2 separate regions of the Homo sapiens genome follow, and region 1 is linked to region 2. Evidence: promoter capture Hi-C in human tissues and cell types (Jung and others, 2019). All regions are on one chromosome and are shown on one strand. The core of a region is centred on a gene start or on the middle of the fragment in contact, and the rest is flanking DNA. Distances in the headings are between cores, read along the strand shown.

The links. Contacts are between HindIII fragments. The study calls those that stand out against the background at their distance.
Region 1: a fragment that was not itself captured here is called in contact with the fragment with the promoter of LAMA3 in region 2 in 2 of the 25 tissues and cell types used here (dorsolateral prefrontal cortex and lymphoblastoid cells).

What each region holds. Positions count from the first base shown.
Region 1 is chr18:23,764,396-23,770,617 of GRCh38, reverse strand. All of the region lies in intron 8 of LAMA3 (laminin subunit alpha 3), which reads right to left. Among named protein-coding and RNA genes, the nearest start is that of LAMA3, 78 kb to the right of the region's middle. The HindIII fragment of the contact is 6,883 bases long and covers 1-5,830 here.
Region 2 is chr18:23,687,992-23,693,655 of GRCh38, reverse strand. LAMA3 (laminin subunit alpha 3) reads right to left here and starts at 4,203. Exons shown (of 75, transcript NM_198129.4): 1 at 3,679-4,203. The coding sequence starts at 3,972. RefSeq lists an enhancer at 4,295-4,844. The HindIII fragment of the contact is 10,376 bases long and covers 1-5,664 here.

The DNA of each region.
Region 1 (6,222 bases), core at 1,140-3,639, 79 kb before region 2:
GGCTAATTTTTGGTATTTTTAGTAGAGTCAGGGTTTCACCGTATTAGCCAGGATGGTCTCAATCTCCTGACCTCGTGATCCGCCCGCCTCAGCCTCCCAAAGTGCTGGGATTACAGGCGTGAGCCACAGCACCCGGCCTTGTTAAGCTCTTTGATGTACATTTATTGGCCATTTATATATCTACTTTTGTCAAGTAGCTATTCAAATCTTTTGAATTTTTTTGAGGTTTTTTTTTTTATAACTGAGCTGTGGAAGTTCTTTGTATATCCCAGATACCAACCATTTGTCAGGTTTATGTTTTGTGAATATTTTCTGTCTGTAACTTGCCTATTCATTTTCTTAATAGCATGTTTTGTTTTGAGCAGAAGTTTTTAATTTTGATAAAATCTAAATTGTCAATTTTTCATGGTTATTGTTGATGTTTTTGTCTAGTTTTATAAATTGCCAATAGGATGGTATTTAAATCTCCAACTATGATCATAGAATTGTCTATTTTTCCCTCTAATTCTGTCAAATTTTGCTTCATGTATTTTAAAGCTCTATTGTTAGATGCAAACACACTTATGATTACTGTCTCCCTGATGAATTTACTCTTAGCATTACGAAATGTCTTTATTTGTGTTAATGCTCTTTGTCTTAAAGTTTACTTTGCCTGATATTTTTACTCTATCCTTCTAATGTTTATTGTTTACATAGTATATTTTTTCCCATTCATTTACTTTCAACTTGTCCTTATATTTAAAGGTAAGTACTTGTGAACAATATAGTTGAGTCTTGCTTTTTTATTCATTCTTATTGCTTCTGCCTTTGAATTGGAGTGTTTAGTCCATTAACATTTAGAGTATTTTTTATAGAGCTGGATTTGGGTCTACCACTATTTGTATCTATTTTCTGCTTGCCCCTTCCTTTTGTGTCTGGTGTGTGTGTATGTGGTTTTGTGTGTGTGTGTGCTTGCGCACATGCATGCACTTCATCCCCTGTTCCTTCATTTATCTATTTTTTGGATTATTTGAATGTTTTTAAAATTACCTTTAGAAGTATCTATTGGCCTTTTAGCTGTACCTCTTTGCATTATTTTGTCAGCAGTTGTTTTAGGGACTACAATATATATCCTTCACGTCTCACAGTCAAATTAGAGTTAATATTGTATTATTTTTTATGCTATTGTTGCATATGTATTATATTTACATGCATTTTATAAATACCATGAGACAATGTCATAAATTTTGTTGTAAGCGGCCCTACATACTCTAATTTTTTCCAGCTATATTGAAGTATTATTTACAAAATATTCTTTTATTTTCCTTTTCCATTATTTATTCTCTCCTCTAAAACATTTACAAATGGGATTGAGTAAAGGAAAATAATTACAGATCATTGTATTACCATAAAAGGGCAGAGATTTGGAAATAAAGAGGGGTTGGGAAGGTAGGTAGTTTCCTAAAATTCTTTTTCCAAAAAAAAAATTCAACTCTAATTTTAGATTCAGGGGGTACATGTACAGATTTGTTAGCTGGATATATTGCATGGCGCTCAGCTTTGGTGTATGATTGATCCTGCCACCCAGGTACTGAGCATAGTACCCAATAGTTAGTTTTTCGACCCTTGTCGCCCTTCTTCGCTCTCCCCTCTAGTAGTCCCCAGTGTCTATTGTTTCCACCTTTATGTCCATGAGTACCCAATGTTTAACTCCCACTTGAAAGTGAGAACGTGTGGCGTTTGGTTTTCCGGTTTTGCATTAATTTGCTTAGGATAATGACCTCCAGCTGCATCCATGCTGCTGCAAAGGGTATGATTTCATTCTTTTTTATGTCTGTGTAATATTCCATCATGTATATATACCACATTTTCTTTATCCAATCCACCACTGATAGGCACCAAGGTTGATTCCATGTCTTTGTTATTGTAAATAATGCTCCAATGAACATATGAGTGCATGTGACCTTTTGATGAAATAATTTATTTCTTTTGGATATATGCCAATTAATAGGATTACTGGGTTGAATGGTAGTTTTGTTTTCTTTGAGAAATCTCCAAACTGCTTTCCATAGTGGCTAAAATAATTTACATCCCCACCAGCAATGTATAAGTAAGTGTTCTCTTTTCTCTGCAACCTGAGCAGCATTTGTTGTTTTTTGACTTTTTAATAATAGCCATTCTAGCTGGTGTGAGATGATATCTCATTGTGGTTTTGACATGCATTTCTATGATGATTAGTGATATGGAGCATTTTTTCATACGTTTGTTGGCCACTTGTATGTCTTCTTCTGCAAAGTGTCTGTTCATGTCTTTTGCCCATTTTTTAATGGAGTTATTTGTTTTTTGCTTGCTGAACTATTTAAGTTCCTCATATATTCCGAATATTAGACCTTTGTTAGGTGCACAGTTTGCAAATATTTTCTCCCACTCTGTAGGCTGTCTGTTTACTCTGCTGATAGTTTTTTTTTTTTTTGTAGTATAGAAGCTCTTTAGTTTAATTAGGTCCCATTTGTCAATTTTTTGTTTTGTTGAAATTGCTTTTGAGAACTTAGCCATAAATTATTTCCGAAGGCCAATGTCCAGAATGGTGTTTCCTAGGTTTTCTTCTAGGATTCTTATAGTTTGAGGTCTTACATTTAAATCTTTAGTCCGTCTTGAGTTAATTATTGTATAATATATGGTGAAAGGTAGGGGTCCAGTTTCATTTTTCTGCACATGGAGAGACAACTATCTTAGCACCATTTATTGAATAGAAAGACCTTTCCTTGCCAGGCACGGTGGCTGACACCTGTAATCCCAGCACTTCGGGAGGCTGAAGCGGGTGGGTCACCTGAGGTCAGGAGTTTGAGACCAGCCTGGCCAACATGGTGAAACTCTGTTTCTACTAATAATGAAAAATTAGCCAGGCATGATGGCACACACCTGTAGTCCCAGCTACTTGGGAGGCTGAGGCAGGAGAATTACTGGAACCCGGGAGGCAGTGCAATAAGCCCAGATCGTGCCACTGCACTCCAGCCTGGGTGACAGAGCAAGACTCTGTCTAAAAAAAAAAAAAAAAAAGAAAAGAAAGAAAAAAGAAAAAAAGTCCTTTCCTCATTGCTTATTTTTGTTAACTTTGTTGAAGATCAGATGGCTGTAGGTGTGTGGCTTTATTTTTGAGTTCTGTATTCTGTATAGTTTGAAGTCAGGTAATGTTATGCCTCTGGCTTTGTTCTTTTTGCCTAGGGCTGCTTTGGCTATTTGGGCTCTTTTTTTGGTTTCTTCTGAATTTTAGAATAGTTTTTTATAGTTTTGTCAAAAATGACATAGATAGAAATAGCGTTGAATCTGTAGATTGCTTTGGGCAGTATGGCCACTGTAATGTTACTAATTCTTCCAATCCATGAGCATGGAATGTCTTTTCATTTGTTTTTGTCATCTATTATTTCTTTCAGTCAGTATTTTGTAGTTGTCCTTGTAGAGATCTTTCACCTCCTTGGTTAGATGTATTCCTAGATTTGGGCTTTTTTTATTGTTTGTTTTTTGCAGTTACTGTAAATGGGATTGTGTTCTTGATTTGGCTCTCAGCTTGAACATTATTGGTGCATAGAAATGCTACTGATCTTTGTATCCTGAAACTTTACTGAAGTTGTTTATCAGTTCCAGAAGCCTTCTGGAAGAGTCCTTAGGTTTTCTAAGTATAGAATCATATCATTAACAAAGAGAGATAGTTTGACTTTTTCTTTTGCTATTTGAATGTCTTCTATATCTTTCTCTTGACTGATTGCTCTGGCTAGGACTTCCAAGAATTTTTTTTTTCTTTGAGACAGTCTTTTTCTGTCACCCAAGCTGGAGTGTAGAGGCATGATCTTGGCTCACTGCAACCTCTGCCTCCTGGGTTCAAGTGATTCTCATGCCTCAGCCTCCCGAGTATCTGGGATTACAGGTGCACACCACCATGCCTGGCTAATTTTTGTATGTTTTAATAGAAGCAGGGTTTCACCATGGTGGCCAGGCTGGTCTCAAACTCCTGACCTCAGGTGATCTGCCCACCTCGGCCTCCCAAAGTTCTGGGATTACAGGCATGAGCCACCACGCCCAGCCAAGAATTTGTTTTTAAATAGTACTTTATATTTGCCCAGACACATACCATACTCTTCATTTCTTCCTAAAGATCTGAGTTTCCATCTCGTATTACCTCTCTTTAACCTAAAGAACTTCCTTTAGCATATCTTGTAGTGTAGGTCTCTTAGACAATAAATTCTCTTAGTTTTATTTTATCTACCAAACAATTTTCTTTTTGCTTTTATTCTTGAAGGATATTTTTACTGAATACGGAATTCTGGGATGATGGTTCTTTTTTCTTTTAGCACTTTAAAGATACTATTCCTTCTGTGACCTCCAGTTTCTAATAAAAAGTCCACAGTCATACTATGTTGTAATGTTTTCTCTGTCTACTTTCAAGATTTTCACTTTGTCTTTGGATTTCAGCAGTTTGACTCCACTAGGCCTAGGAATTATTTTCTTTGTATTTCTCCAGGTTAGGGTTCATTAAGCTTTTTGAATCTTAGCCTATTGCAAAATTTGAGGTATTTCCTACTATTATTTCTTCACTTTTTTTTCTGATTCATTGTCTCTTCTCTGCTTCTGGGAGTCCAATTACATGTTCCTTACATCTTTAGCTATTGTCTCACCAGTTCCCAAATCTCTGTTCATTTGAAATATATATATTTTTCTTTCTCTTCTTCAGACTAGATAAATTCTACTAATCTATCTTCAAATTCACTGACTCTTTCTTCTATTACCTCCTTTCTGCTATTCGGCCCCTCCAATGGATTTTTTATTTAACATATTGCATTTTTTAGTTATAGAATTTTCATTTTGATCCTTTTACAGTTTTTATTTCCCTACTGATATTTATTATCTTTTCATTCATTGTGACTATATTTTAATCTATTCTCTTGAGCATAATTATAATAGCAGCTCTAAAATCCTTAACTGCTAATTTCAACATCTGGGGCATGTCAGAATTGGTCCCTATTGATTGTCTTTTCTCTTAAGAATGGGTCACTTTTTTTGAATCTTCATATGTTACAAAATCTAGGGTTGTAGCCTAGACATTGTGAATATTGTGTTGTAAGGATTCCAAATCCATTAGCATTCCTCTAAAAAATGGTTTTTTTTCTTTATGAGACAATTAACTTTACTCAAGCTGCACATTCTGACTCTTAAGTGGTAACTAAAATGTCAAGTAAGTTATTTCAGTCTCAGATGAAATCCATCCTGTGCTTGGATTGTATGGAAAACGGACTGAGGGGTCAGTCAGAAACTTGAGAAGAATTTATATACAGAATTAGGGATTTCCCTGCTCTTGACTTCTCTTTTCCTGGACTCCCCACCAACTTTCCACAAGTTGGAGTTGTCCTAAGCTCTGCTCTCTGGTTCCTCAGAGAACACAGCTTTAAGACAAAGGTTCCATATTTCTAGAGAAATTTTAGCCAGACCACATGGGACCAACTTTGGCCTCCCCTCTGGGTAAAAGTCATAAAAATATGTAACTCACCCTATGCTGATCTGTTTTGCCAAGTTGCAGCTCCCCTCCAGTATCTTCCTGCTTATTTTTACTCTTCAGTGCTTTCAGATCATGGTTTTTGTGGTTTTGTCATTTGTTTATTTGTCTTTTGTATTTTGCCCATAGTTTATCATATGAACACCTAAAATATGACCCATTCTTAAGAGAAAAGACAATCAATTGAGACCAATCCTCCATGGGAGGGTTCAGTCCTGCAGCAGCCACTAAACCATAAAAGAAGCAGAACTCTTTCCTTGTCCATTGATTATCAATATAATATAAAAGTTAATTATGCTGCTAAAATGTACACTTAAAAATGGTTAAAATGGTAAATTTTATGTTATGTCTATTTTACCACAATAAACATTTTAAAGTTAATTACGCTACCTAAATATCTAACTGAGTAAAAGGCATTTTAAATTTAAGTTGGAAAACAAATGCAGTACACCCAAATAACAGTTCAGTAATTTCATAAGCAAAAAAAAAAAAAATGTTTTTGCAGACCCACTATGAAAAAAAAGACTACATTGATGGTTTCCTGGAACAGCAAAGTACAAAACATAATATCACTGAGAGAATGATGAAGAATAACAAAGTATTCTAAAGACACATTGAAGGGGCTTGACCTTTCATCCAGAGAAAAGATTCTACCTACACATTCTAGTCCAGTGTTTCTGCAACTTAATATGCAC
Region 2 (5,664 bases), core at 2,954-5,453:
CTAAAACAAGTTACTATTTCTATAATATAGAAGGCTATAGAAGTCTGTATGCCAGTGGATTATTTAGCATGGCAAATGTGTTCAGTATATAATGCACTGTACGTTTCTCTTTTTTTTTTTTTTTTGATACAGAGTCTCACTCTCAAGAGCTGAGGGAATCCTGCTAGCAGATCTACTCTACAAGGAATGCTAAAAGGAGTCATTCAAGATGAAATAAAAAGACACTAGACAGTAATTCAAAGCCATACTAAGAAAGAACAACAGTATAGGTAACTACATATGTAAACATAAAAACCAGTATTATTGTATTTTTGGGTTGTTTTGTTTTTGAGATGGAGTCTTCCTCTGTTGCCCAGGCTGGAGTGCAATGGCGCGATCTCAGCTCCTGGGTTCAAGCAATTCTGCTGCCTCAGCCTCCCGAGTAGCTGGGATTACAGGCACCTGCCACCACGCCCGGCTAATTTCTGTATTTTTAGTAGAAACGGGGTTTCACCATGCTGGCCAAGCTGGTCTTGAACGTCCAACCTCAGGCGATCCGCCCACCTCGGCCTCCCAAAGTGCTGGGATTACAGGCGTGAGCCACCATGCCTCTCCATATTTTTGGTTTTTAACTGCTTTTTTTGTATATTATTTAGAAGACAAATGCATATATAATAACAATAATTATAAATTCATAATAATGAACAATCATGTATAAAGATGTAATTTGCAACAATAATGTAAAGGACAGAGTTATACAGAAGCAGAATTTGGGATGCTGTTGAAGTTAAGCTAGTATCAATTCAAACTGGATTGTTATATATTTAGGATACTAATCGTAATCTTCAGAATAAGTACTAAAAAAAAACTAAATATATATAGAAAAGGAAATGAGGAGAGAATCAAAATGGTAAAAATCAGTTAAACCAGAAGACAATAATAGAAGAATTGAGAGTAGCCAAAAAATATATAAGGCATATAGAAAACAAGCATCAGAATGACAGAAATAAGTCTTTTCTCATGGAAACAAAATTTTCTAACATTAATATTTTCCAACAAAAGATTTGCAGTGAGTCTTGAATCTATTGTTTAAAACATCAAAACGGGCCGGCTGCGGTGGCTCATGCCTGTAATCCTAGCACTTTGGGAGGCCAAGGTGGGTGGATCATCTGAAGTCAGTAGTTCGAGACCAGCCTGGCCGACATGGTGAAACCCCGTCTCTACTAAAAATACAAAAATTAGCTGGGCGTGGTGGCAGGCGCCTGTAATCCCAGCTACTCGGGAGGCTGAGGCAGAAGAATAGCTTGAACCCAGGAGGCGGAGGTTGCAGTGAGCTGAGACCGTGCCACTGCACTCCAACCTGGGAGAGACGAGAGAGACTTCGTCTCAAAAACAAAACAATACAAAACATTAAAACGTAATACCTTTCTACTAGGAATGCTGAATACAACTTGGAAGTGAACAATTACCGGCCAAGTTTCTACTTCTAAAAATTTTTAGGCTAACCGAAGGATGGGGCAGAGCTAGAGCTATAGTACCATGATTTAGTAGCTTAGACAGCAAAAGACGTGTACAGTCACTTGGGGCCTCTCACTTCGAAGGGCCCCTCGCTTACTTCAATGCTGTGCTGTCACCATCTTGATATTTAAAATAATTTTTTAACAAGGGGTTCTACATTTCCACTTTGCACTGAACTCTGTAAATTATGTGACTGGTCAATGCAGTTCTTCCATTTGAATCTACATATTTTTTTAGGTATCTTTTCAGCTATAACAACCACTAAAATCAAGTATAACATAAAATCAGGCCGGGTGCAGTGGCTCATGCCTGTAATCCCAGCACTTTGGGAGGCCAAGGTGGGCAGATCGCTTGAGCCCAGGGGTTCAAGACCAGTCTGGCCAACATGGCAAAACCTTGTCTCTACAAAAGATACAAAAATTAGCCACGCATGGTGGCATGTGCCTATAGTCCCAGCTACTTGGCAGGCTGAAGTGGGAGGATTACCTGGGCCTGGGAGGTGGAGGTTGCAGTGAGCCAAGATAGCACCACTGCACTCCAGCCTGGGTAATAGAGTGAGACCCTGTCTCAAAAATAAAATTAAATTAAAAACTGAATTGTTATAAGAGCTAAACTAAATTTCTCAAAAATAATTATACACACAATTATATTTGCATATTTGTGTGTTTATAAACACACAATCATAAAATAGAGAAAGCAAAATTATTTGAGGACTGTTAAAAGTATTTTCATCATTGTTATTTTATATTTTTAGTTTCTTTTCTTGCATGTTTTATAATATAGATAATATATAAATATGGTAAAAATATTTTCATCATTGTTATTTTGTCTTTTAGATTTCTGTTTTTGCATGTTTTAAAATATGCACAACACATATCAATATAATACATGCATGTAGTTTATAAGTAAATAAGCACATATGGCACTAGATGTTCAACAACTTGTCATTTATGGAAGTGCATGGTCAAAAGAGTTTCTAAAACACTAATCTAGACACCCAATGATAACCTTGCTCTTTTAGAACCCAAGCTCCAAAATCGCTCCCTCTTCCCACTTCCTGTTCCTCAACAATACTTTGCAGAAGAAGGAGGCAATTTGGGCTTAGTGTCCAGGATTTGAAGTCAGGACTGGATTCAAATTCTCCTGCCCCTTTGGGAGGTCAAGACAGAAGGACAGCTTGAGGCTAAGAGTTTGAGACCAGCTTGGGCAAAATAGCCAGACTCTGTCTCTACAGAAAAATAAATAAATAAATAAATAAATAAATAAATAAATAAATAAATAAATAATTGCCAGGCCTGAGGTTGCAGTGAGCCGAGATCGCACCATTGCATTTCAGCCCCGGCGACAGTGCGAGACTCTGTCTCAAAAAAAAAAAAAAAAAATTGCCAGGCACGGGGGGGCACGCCTGTAGTCCCAGCTACGCCCAAGGCTGAGGCGGGAGGATCCCTTGAGCCCAGGAGTTCGAGGCTGCCGTGAGCCGTGATCGCACCACTGCACTCTTGCCTGGCTGAGACCTGTGAGTAAGGGCCAGGCACTGCAAGATGCTGCTTAACATGCACCGCAATGTCGTTTGCCCCGGGTGTTCGCGGTGAGGCTCGGATCTCTGAGAGCCTTTCTATCTCTGTCCGCCTAAGGTCTCATTCGCCCCCAATGACTGGATGGTGGCACTTCAGGCAGTGCAGTGAAGTGAATCTTTTCAGTAACATTAGAGTGATACCGCTGTTATAACCTAAAAATTCTCTCTTAAAATACACCACAGAAGGTAATTGCCACCGACTTCTCCGAATAAGGCCCGGGAGGTGGGGCAGGAGGCGCCCCTGAACCCTCGAGGACTCAAGCCTGGCGGGACGCTCCGTGGGTGACGGAGGCGGGAAGGGCCGAGGCGCCTGCATCTCTTAGAGCGCAGCCTCACACTTTCCCCTCCACCAGCCCGAACCTGACCACAGCCTCATGTCACCTCGCGTGCTCCCCCTCCTCGCCTCGGGCCGGTGGTGCCGGTGCGGTGCTTCCACGAGATCGCTCCTGGGTCGTGGGCCCTCGCGCGCGGGGATGGGGGCTGCCCTTCCCAGTCGCCCGGAGCCACTAGCGCGCGTGAGGAAAGGGCCCGATCCCTTCTCCGGGTGTCTGGCCGGCGCGGGAAGGAAAAGGCGCGCCCACCCCGGCTCTCTCCGAGGCCCTCACCTGGATGGTGTGGCCGCTGCCTGGGGCGGTGGGGCCCCCGACCAACTTGCAGTAGAGCTCGGGCTGGGGCCTCCCCTCGCCGGGTCCCCTCTCCCCGCAGGTGGCGGTGGCCCAAATCCTCGCCGCCTCGGCCAGGTTGAAGTAAGTCGGGTGAAGGCTGAGCCCGGCCGCGGCCCCGGGATCCCGAGCGGTCGCCCCGCAGGCTGGCAGCACCCGCAGTACCAGCAGGAGCAGCGGCGTCGGCGGCAGTACTGGCCCCAGTGCCCGACCCCGAGGCCGCGCGGCCGCCGCCATCCAGCCGCGCGGGGTCCTCCCGCCTGAGCCGTCCGCAGAGGGGCTCGGGGGCACCGCCGCTCTCCGCCTGCGCCTCCCGGACCTGCAGCGCCAGGACTAGCGCAGCCGGGGATATGGGCGGCGCCGGGGCCGCTCCCCTTGCTCCACGCGCTGGAAGCCCGCGGCGTGGGGGTGGCCTCTCAGCTCTGGAACCTGCCGCGGCTGGAGCGGGCACCAGCCGGATCAGGAACTGACAGCGCTCAGCCGCGCGCCAGCAGACGGCGTCTCTCCCGCGCGAGGCGCGCTGCAAACTTCGCGGGCGGGGAATGGGAGAGGCGTTCCCGGGCTCCCACCCAGGCGGCGGGAACGGGAGCCTGGGATCTTCGAACCCTCCAGGCGCCAGGACAGAAATTAATTAGATCGTTCTCCTCTCTGGATACTCACCGCTCAGGTCAAAGCCAGAAAAGCCACCTGTGACCTAAGAGTAAAGGAGGCTTGTAAACGAATTTGGTTGAGAGCAGAGGAAACTGCCACTACCTACAGAACTCACATCAAAGACATTTCGATTTCCCAGCCAAGTGTTGAGTCGTCAACTCCTCAACACTGTGCACCTAGGATCCCTGTGGCACTGCAGCCACAGGCTGAGCCAGGGAACTGGGAGTGGTGGAACGTACATATTTAAAAGACAGCCAATAATGCAAGTTGTAATTTGCCAACCTGGAAAGGAACCTTAGAGGAAATCCTTTAGATGCCTAATCTGCTCAATTTTACAAATAAGCTAACAGAGATTGAGTGAGGTACGCCACCTGCCATGATGGCCTCAGAACAGAGAAGACCCCCTCCCCCCACGACCCCGGACTGATGCTTGGTCTTATATGCAGAACACCCTACTAAAACAGAACCCACATAGGCCCTCGAAGAAATTAGAGGAATGCAATATTTGTACAATAAAAATTGCAAAACCTCTTTGAAAGAAATGTTAAAAGACCTAAATGAGTGGAAAAGCCTCCCATGTTCATGGATTAGGAGACAATATTGTGAAGATGGCAATATTTCCTAAAGCAACCTACAATTCAACACAATGGATTTTGATAGGGATCAAAATCCCGACTTTTTTTTTTTTCAGAAATTGACAAGCTGATCCTAAAATTCATGTGGAAATGCAAGAGACCTAGAAAATCCAAAACGATTCTGAGAAAGAATGAAGTCAGTGGACTCACGCTTCCTAGTTTTAAAACTTAATACAAAACTACAGTAATCAAGACAGTGTAGTACCGACATAACGATAAACATAGATCAATGGAATAGAATTGAGAGCTCAGAAATAAACCGTTACATTTATGGTCACTGGATTTTCAACAGGGTGCCAAGACTATTCAATGGGAAAAGAATAATATTTTTAATAAACGCTGCTGGGAAAACTGGACATCCCAAAATAATCTAGTAGGATCCCCACCTCATACTATATGCAAAAATTAACTCAAAATGGATTTAAGATCTCTAAATTTTACATTTAGAGAGCTAAACTATAAAGCTAAAACTATAAAATTCTAAGGGAAAAACACAGGAGAAAATCTTCATGACTTTGGATTAGCAATGCTGTCTTAGCTATGATATCAAAAGCGCAAGCAACAAAAGAAAAATATAAATTGGGCCGGGCACGGTGGCTCATGCCTGTAATCCTAGTACTTTGGGAGGCCGAGGTGGGTGGAT